Regions from separate parts of the Homo sapiens genome. Here region 1 is linked to region 2. Evidence: promoter capture Hi-C in 16 types of primary human blood cells and fetal thymus (Javierre and others, 2016). All regions are on one chromosome and are shown on one strand. The core of a region is centred on a gene start or on the middle of the fragment in contact, and the rest is flanking DNA. Distances in the headings are between cores, read along the strand shown. Region 1 holds the start of MTCH2 (mitochondrial carrier 2). Region 2 holds the start of CRY2 (cryptochrome circadian regulator 2).

Region 1 (3,786 bases), core at 822-3,321, 1.8 Mb after region 2:
TCACTGCAACCTCCATCTCCCAGGTTTAAGCCATTCTCGTACCTCAGCCTCCTGAGTAGCTGGGATTACAGGCACCCACCACCACACCCAGCTAATTTTTGTATTTTTAGTAGAGAGGGGGTTTTGCCATGTTGGCCAGGCTAGTCTTTAACTCCTGACCTCAGGTGAACCGCCTGTTTCAGGCTCCCAAAGTGTTGGGATTTACAGGCGTGAGCCACCGTGCCCGGCCCAAGTAACTATTTTTACAACTGAGCATTTGGGAATTTCACCAAAACTCCTGGGCTACTTGGCAACACATAGATGTTGTGAAATCAGAATTAAGAATATTCAAAGTTTTTGGGGCAAGAGCTCTGAACATCATTAGAAAACCCCGTCTCCCAGAGAAGTATTGAGTAGTGGGTTCTTTTTTGTTTTGTTTTGTTTTTTTGAGGCTGAGTTTTGCTCTGTTGCCCAGGCTGGAGTACAATGGCGCGATCTCGGCTCACTGCAACCTTCACCTCCCGGGTTCAAGCGATTCTCCTGCCTCAGCCTCCCGACTAGCTGGGATTACGTGCACGCACCACCACACCTGGCTATATTTTGTATTTTTAGTAGAGACGGGGTTTCACCATGTTGGTCAGACTGGTCTCAAACATCGACCTCGTGATCCGCTCACCTCGGCCTCCCAAAGTGCTGGGAAGGCGTGAGCGAACGCGCCCGGCCCCAAGGGTTCTTACTATATACTGCAACATGCTGTCACCTCCGATGCTATCTAGCCCCAAATGTGCCAATTCTGTTTTGGATGTTACAGTACATTCTAATCAGTCTTTGTTCTAAGTACAAAGAATTTATTTGCAATAGCCTTTAACATATGGAATCTGAATTCACACAGGTCTACTCAGCAAGAAATAATTTGGATTCCCAACAACTCAAGAATAAGAAATGGGGCCCTCTCTAGTGTCTTGCCTATTTTTTACAGAAAAGTAGACGGCGAGACAGGGGTTCTAAAAACTGTTCCATTCCTAGGCACAGTGCATGAGGTAATTATGTCAACTCTCAGTAAAAGCATAAAAAAAAGAATGACCTGCCCATTACAGGGATATAGCAAAGGAACTGGAAACACTAAGTCTATCACTTACTTGGCCTACCTGCATGTGAATATAAAATACCATGTAATAATTATTTGACAGTAGATTAGAAACTAACTCCCATGTTTAAACTCGCTAAAACTCAGCTTCACTAATTTCCAGCTCTGACAAATGTGATTTTCATTGTCAGGAGCCACATGGGCCGCTGCTGGAAAGCGCTCAATGCATCCTTCCGAAATCTGACAGAGCAACCCCTTCATTAACACTTCTGAATGAGCTCCTTGTGTTTCTCTCAGTATCTGGTGCGAAAACCTCGGAACAGAAAAGCAGTAGTAACAGTAGCATAAAAAGAAAAAAAAAAGGAATAAAAAATAAAATGTTGGTTCCCACCTAACTTCACATTTGTCTTCAACTGAGTATTTCGTGTTTTGCGTCTGAGATTTTGGGGGGAGTAGTGGTGAATGTGAATTTCGGAGGGGCGAGAGGGAGGGTTCGGAAGCCTTTGGTGGCGACCGGCCAGGATCCACCTCAGTGACGAAGAACCAAAGTTCAGAGGATCCGCCGGGCAGGGCAGGGCCGGGTGGCGGTTGGCTAAGGGAGGAGAGGGCCTCAACGCTGGGCGGCGAGGCGAGGGCTCGGCGAGGCCCCCAAGCGGGGCCGCGGGACTGAGGAAGCTGTCCCTGCGGGGAGGTAAAGGGCAGCGGAGGAGCAGCAGCATCTCGGGAGAATGAAAGGCCCGCAAGGCTGAGCCGATCCTCAGGCGCCCTGAGCAGCAGCGACCGAACGGGGCGCCGGGCGGGGTAGGGAGCGGCGACGCCTCATACCTGGATGAGCACTTTCACGTACATGAGCGGCTGGGACAGGATGGTGAGACCGGAGCCCAGGAGCACCTGACTGGCCGCGTCCGCCATGATGGCACCCGCGGGCGGACGGACAGACAGACGGAGCCACCAAGCGACCCGGTGAGCCGGTCCTAGGTCACGTGCCAGGGCCGCCGGTTTCACTGGCCCGCCCGCGGCGCGCGCGCACGCACGCAGCAGCACGCGCCTCTCCGCCCAGTCCCCGCCCCCCCGTCCCGCCCCGAGAAACGGCAGGCGCTCGCGAGGGGGCGCTGAGGTCGGGGCGGGGCTTAAGGGACAGAGGCGCATGCGTTCTGCCGGGGGCTCGCCCTTCACCAGGAATGACGGTTTCTCTTGCACATGCGCTTCCAGGCCGCAAGTGTCCGGAAACAGAAGAATGGGAGTGTCAGTGGGGGAGTGTGACCGTGACGGCAGAGGCAAGGTCAGAGGACTGAAAAGAAATTGAAAAGGATTCTTCATTATGCTTCATCTCTGCACTTGCCTTTTGGGCATCATCAACATAGGATTCAAAAGATACTCAGCATCAGAGCCGTAACAGTCTCGTGACTGACAAACTCTAAATAAGTATAGCAAATAATGAATCCGCTAGCGAGTGGCTTTTCATTCATTTATTCGTTTGATTAATGTTATCTTTTCAAAAAAACCTTCTCTGACCATTCTAAAATTACCTCCCCCTTTTCTTTTTCTTTCTTTTTTTTTTTTTTTTTGAGACGGAGTCTCGCTCTGTCACCCAGGCTGGAGTGCAGTGGCCCGATCTCAGCTCACTGCAACCTTCGCCTCCCAGGTTCAAGCAATGCTCCTGCCTCAGCCTCCCTAGTAGCTGGGATTACACGCACACGCCACCACGCCCGGCTAATTTTTGTCTATTTAGTAGAGACGGGGTTTCACGATGTTGGCCGGGCTGGTCTCAAACTCCTGACCTCGTGATTCACCCGCCTTGGCCTCCCAAAGTGCTGGGATTACAGGAGTGAGGAGCCATCGCGCCTGGCCACCTCCCTCTTATTTTCTCCCACATTGTGCCCCGTCGTAGCATTATCACTGAAATTATGTCTCCTCCACTGGAATGAAAGCTCCATGAGTTCAGGAACCGTGACAGCCTCTGTTCACGGTTGTGTTTTCAGTGCCCAGCACATACGAGGTGCTCAATAAATATTTATTGCACAAGTGAACAAATACTTCAGTGCCTACCAGTCTACAGGCTATCAGAGGCAAAAGTGAAAAAGGCATTGTCCCTGCTCCTTCAGCCCCAGCTCACGTGTTCTATCAAACAACATTTGGTGAATCTGAGCTTGGAGCAGAGTGAAGTACTGTAGGGGAAAGACTTGGATTTGGATCCTGGCTTTTCCACTGCATCCATTTGTCATTTTAGCTACTTTAATTTCCAGTTTTTGTATCTAAATCTAACACTACTGTGTATCTCTCAGGGTTATTATGAGCATTAAGTGAAATTATGCATAGGAAAGGGTTTTTTTTAAAAAACTTTATATTGAAATACAGATATTGGCTGGGCACGGTGGCTCACACCTGTAATCCCAACACTTTAGAAGGCTGAGGTGGGTGGATCACCTGAGGTCGGGAGTTCAAGACCAGCCTGACCGACATGGTGAAACCCCATCTGTACTAAAAGTACAAAAATTAGTTGGGTGTGATGGCGGGTGCCTGTAATCCCAGCTACTCGGGAGGCTGAGGCAGGAGAATCGCTTGAACTCGGGAGTTGGAGGTTGCAGTGAGCCAAGATTGCGCCATTGCACTCCAGCCTGGGTGACAGGGCGAGACTCAGTCTCAAAAGAATAAATAAATAAAAAATAAAGTTGTAAGAAACAAGTTGCTTCTAACTGAATCTAGAAACATAAAGCTGA
Region 2 (4,294 bases), core at 1,682-4,181:
TTGAAAATGTATTGAACTAGGGTCACAGCACTGCACTCCAGCTTGGGTGACAGAACAAGACCCTGTCTCAAAAAAAAAAAAAAAAAAAAAAAGAACAGGCTGGACACGGTCGGTGGCTCACACCTGTAATCCCAGCACTTTGAGAGGCCAAGGCAGGTGGATTGCCTGAGGTCAGGAGTTCAAGACCAGCCTGATCAATATGGTGAAACCCTGACTCTACTAAAAATACAAAAATTAGCCCAGCGTGGTGGCTGCCACCTATACTCCCAGCTACTTGGGAGGCTGATGCACGAGAATTGCTTGAGCCCAGGAGGCAGAGGTTGCAGTGAGCTGAGATCACGCCACTGCACTCCAGCCTGGGTGACAGAGCAAGACTCCATCTCAAATTAAAAAAAAAAAAACAAACAAAAAAAAAAAAAAAAACACAACCCAGGGAGCACTGAACCTCTGCTTTGATTAAAGTTTTAAAACTTAAATGTTTGTGGACAAAGTCTAGAAGGCAACATGAAGATAAGAAATAATTGATTTGTTAGGTTTTGGGAACTGAGGTTGATTACTTGTTTTTTCATTATTGGCAAAATTTCAAGGACTTTAAAAAAATAAGTAAAATATTTTATGTAGTCAGCAACTTATGGAGCCCACATTACATGTAAGACCCAGGGCTGAGCATTACAAGGAAGACAAAACCAGACACAGGTCCTGCTGTTCAGAATAACAGTAGCTGACACAGTACAAATGCTTACTATATCCTAAGTGCTATTATCACCCTATTGCAAAGATTAAGAAAGTGAGGAACAGAGAGGTTAACTAGCTTATCCAAGGTCACAGAGAATAAAAGCAGAACTAGAATTTGAACTCAGCAACTCCAATGTGCAAAGCCTCAGGTTTAACCATTACATCACACTGCCTCTCATGATAGCTTAATAAGAGAGCGAGGGGAGGGGAGGGAAGTGACTTTTGATCATTCAACAAATGTTTTTTGAGCACCTACTATATGTTAGGTACCAGAGTACCAGCTGAGAAGACACTGAAAAGTAAGACAAGCACAGTCCCTGCCTCACAGGGTTCACGGAATACAGATATAGCATTATGGGAATTTAGAGGAGAAAAAGGGAAGAGGACCCATCTCTGAGGTTAAGGGAGAACCACCTCCTTACACTCTGTTTCATTCCTAGCAAAGCACCAACCTTGTGGAGAGAAGAGGGCATAGGAGAGGGGGAACACAAAACCTTAAAATAAAAGTAATGAAAGATTGCATCGATTTATTCAGCAAGAATTTGGAAAGGAAATTCAAAAATAAGGAAAGGGTCAGGTAAGCGGACTAGGATAAACCTTTAAGAGCCTGCCAATATGAGACTCTAGTTCAATTTTTACTCAAATAATCCTTGAGCGTTAGGTGCCAAGCCCTGAGCTAGACTTCAGACATACAACTGTATGTAAATAAGCCACAGCCCCTGCTCTCCAGGAGTTTATACTCTAATGGGGCAGAAAGACTTTTAAGCAAGAAATTTCAGTATTGTGTGCCAAGACAAGTGACCAAAAAGAAGCACAGAATAAGATGGGGCACTATTCAGGTTGGGATCAGACAGCAAGAAGGTGACATCTATACTGAACAATGATACAGAGCAAACTGGAGTTAGAAACAAAGATGGAAGAGGGAGTGTGATCTAGACTGCTGGAACAGCTCGTGAAAAGCCCTGGAAATGACAGAGAATGCCTAGGATTGCAGTGACACTGGTTTAGAGAGTGGTGCCAATTAATGCCACTAAATTGCAGACTAAATTACTAAATGCTTTCATCACTCTGTCCCAGGTCCAGGAAGGGTTCCAAGCATGGGCTCAACCTAGGGTCAAGTTGAAACAGACTGTTTTCCACCTGATAACCCCAAAGCTGCAGCTTGACTAAGCCGTCTTAGCCCAAGAGGGTTCCACCTGGCGTCCCAGAAGAATGGGGACAGTGTCCTCCACATCTCTGAACCCTACCCGGAATCCAGTACAGTGCTTTGCACACACTGGATCTACTAAACAGACTAAAAGAAAATAAATTCATCTGATGGCATAATTACTATCTCAATTCAAGTCCCCCACATTCCCAGTCCTTACTCCCAAATCCTCTACTGCTGCATATTAGGGCACTCCTTCCCCGTCCTTAGACTCTGCCACTTGGAATTACCAAGGATCTTCGCACAAAGAGAAGTATAGCTTCGTGGATAAAAGCAGAAATTTCGAAATCAGAATAATCTGGGTGAAATCCTCTTAGCAGCTTTATGATATTGAATAAGTCACTCAACCTGCGGCACCCTCCGTTTTCTTCATCTGTGAAACGAAAACAACAGCAGCTTTTTCACTGGGGTTCGCTAAATGAATGTAACTGGGCTGAGTTGAGAATAGTAAATGAGACCGTCTACGTAAGGAGATGATCATGTCTCTTGCCATATAAAGTGCACTTAATAAATGGCAGCTGTAGTAGAATGATGTAGATGGTGATGGTGACGATGTTGGTGATAATAGGAAGGTCAGCTGTCAGTCTTGCAAGTCACTGGCTGTAGTCACAGCAACCCCTACCAGCCCAGGCAGCTTCTTCTAGAAGCAGGCCCTGAACAGGACGTGGGTAAGAGATCCGCTGTCCCTTGAGACTTGGCCTACTCCCGGCACTCCGCGGACAGCCCCAGCCTGCGGACAGCCCCAGCCTGCGTCACTTGTCCGCATGCCAGCTCCACCCGGGCGGACCCACACATGGTAGGAACGTGAGGGGGCGGGCCTGTTCCGGCGCCTCTGGGCCAATCGCCAGGTGGAAGGCACTCAGCCAATGGCAGAGGGGCTCTGGGGCCCTGTGGGCGGGGACTAAGGGTGGAGTTGCGGCGTCATAGGTCACTGGGCGGGCTATGGGCGGGGTCCACGTCGCCTACCGGGGCGGAGCGGGGGTGGCTGGAGCAGTCTGGACAGTCATGGCGGCGACTGTGGCGACGGCGGCAGCTGTGGCCCCGGCGCCAGCGCCCGGCACGGACAGCGCCTCTTCGGTGCACTGGTTCCGCAAAGGGCTGCGACTCCACGACAACCCGGCGTTGCTGGCGGCCGTGCGCGGGGCGCGCTGCGTGCGCTGCGTTTACATTCTCGACCCGTGGTTCGCGGCCTCCTCCTCAGTCGGGATCAACCGATGGAGGTGAGGGGACCCGGGGCTGGGTGGCGGGGACGCAGCCAGGACCCTGACCCTGGGGTGACCGGCGAACAGCACGATCCCCCCAACCCCGCCACGGCTGGAAGGCCAGAGGGGAGAAGCCGAGACCGGGGAAGTAATTCGTCATGGTCCTAACGCGCCGGTGGGCCAGGGTTCAGCCTCTGACAAAGCGCGTTCGCACTGTTACCCCTTTGAGCCTCACAACTGCCTGTGGAACGGAGATCATGATCCCCGTTGTACAGATGAGACCCTTGAGCCCTGGAGACCCAAAGTCGACCTGCCCAAGGACTTGTAGCCAGTGAGTGGCAGAACAGGGGCTCCTGGTCTAGGGCTCTTACGGTCTACTCAGGGAGGGGCGGAAGGGAGATAACGTAGTGTGAGGGCGGGACGGGTTTTTGCTCGCATTCTTCAAGAGCCCGTTGCTGGGCTCGGGGAGATCACTCCGAAGCCTCTGGCTCGTTTGAATCCGCCCTACCACCCATCCTGGCTACCCTGCACCCAGACCGTCCTGCCTCTAGGGGTGTCAAGTGACCCTGGCTTAGCATTAAATAAGGTCTTCTCCCCTATATTATAAATAAAGAAGCCAAAGGCGTCTTCAGGTGGAGTCGCTTTATGTTCAAAGCTCCAGAGAATCCAGGGGATTCTCCAAAATGTTTTAAGCCCTGCTCTGGAGCTTTGACCTCGATAGAAAAATTTAAAAGAATCCAAAGTGTCACCCCGTCATCCTCTTGTCATGATTTTAGAGGACAGTAGAGCCATTAGAGATGAGACTTTTATGAACTGTTGTGGTAAGGTTAGGGAGCAGGAAAGCCATGATATCAAGGGCCCCTCTGATGACCCCCCAGGAGATGGAGTCGACATGATCATGGAAAAAGATGAACAGGTCGTTAGTGTATTTTCACTGTAAACAGTATTCAAACTAAAGAGTTTTGAGACATAATGTACCCATCGCTCTTCAGAACACCTAGTGGCAGTCGCTCGGTTTGTTTGCATTGTTCTGGGGAATGTTTGCTTGTGGCCTTGTTGCATCGATGGACAGGGTTATTTCCAGGATACCGTGGCTCTCGGCACACCATTCTTTTCTCTCCAAGGTGTGTGCCCTGCTAAGAGAGTGAGT

What was found. The method cuts DNA at HindIII sites, captures the fragments that hold promoters and counts their contacts. A CHiCAGO score of 5 or more calls a contact.
Region 1: a contact is called between the fragment with the promoter of MTCH2 here and the fragment with the promoter of CRY2 in region 2, in 1 of 17 cell types (monocytes). The highest score is 5.6, in monocytes.

What each region holds. Positions count from the first base shown.
Region 1 is chr11:47,640,488-47,644,273 of GRCh38, forward strand. It overlaps MTCH2 (mitochondrial carrier 2), which reads right to left and starts at 2,072. Exons shown (of 13, transcript NM_014342.4): 1 at 1,892-2,072. The coding sequence starts at 1,978. RefSeq lists a silencer at 1,993-2,262. The HindIII fragment of the contact is 6,217 bases long and covers 1-3,786 here.
Region 2 is chr11:45,844,544-45,848,837 of GRCh38, forward strand. It overlaps CRY2 (cryptochrome circadian regulator 2), which reads left to right and starts at 2,932. Exons shown (of 12, transcript NM_021117.5): 1 at 2,932-3,162. The coding sequence starts at 2,948. RefSeq lists enhancers at 2,383-2,492, 2,543-2,592, 2,953-3,192, 3,123-3,644 and a silencer at 3,593-3,702. The HindIII fragment of the contact is 7,201 bases long and covers 1-4,294 here.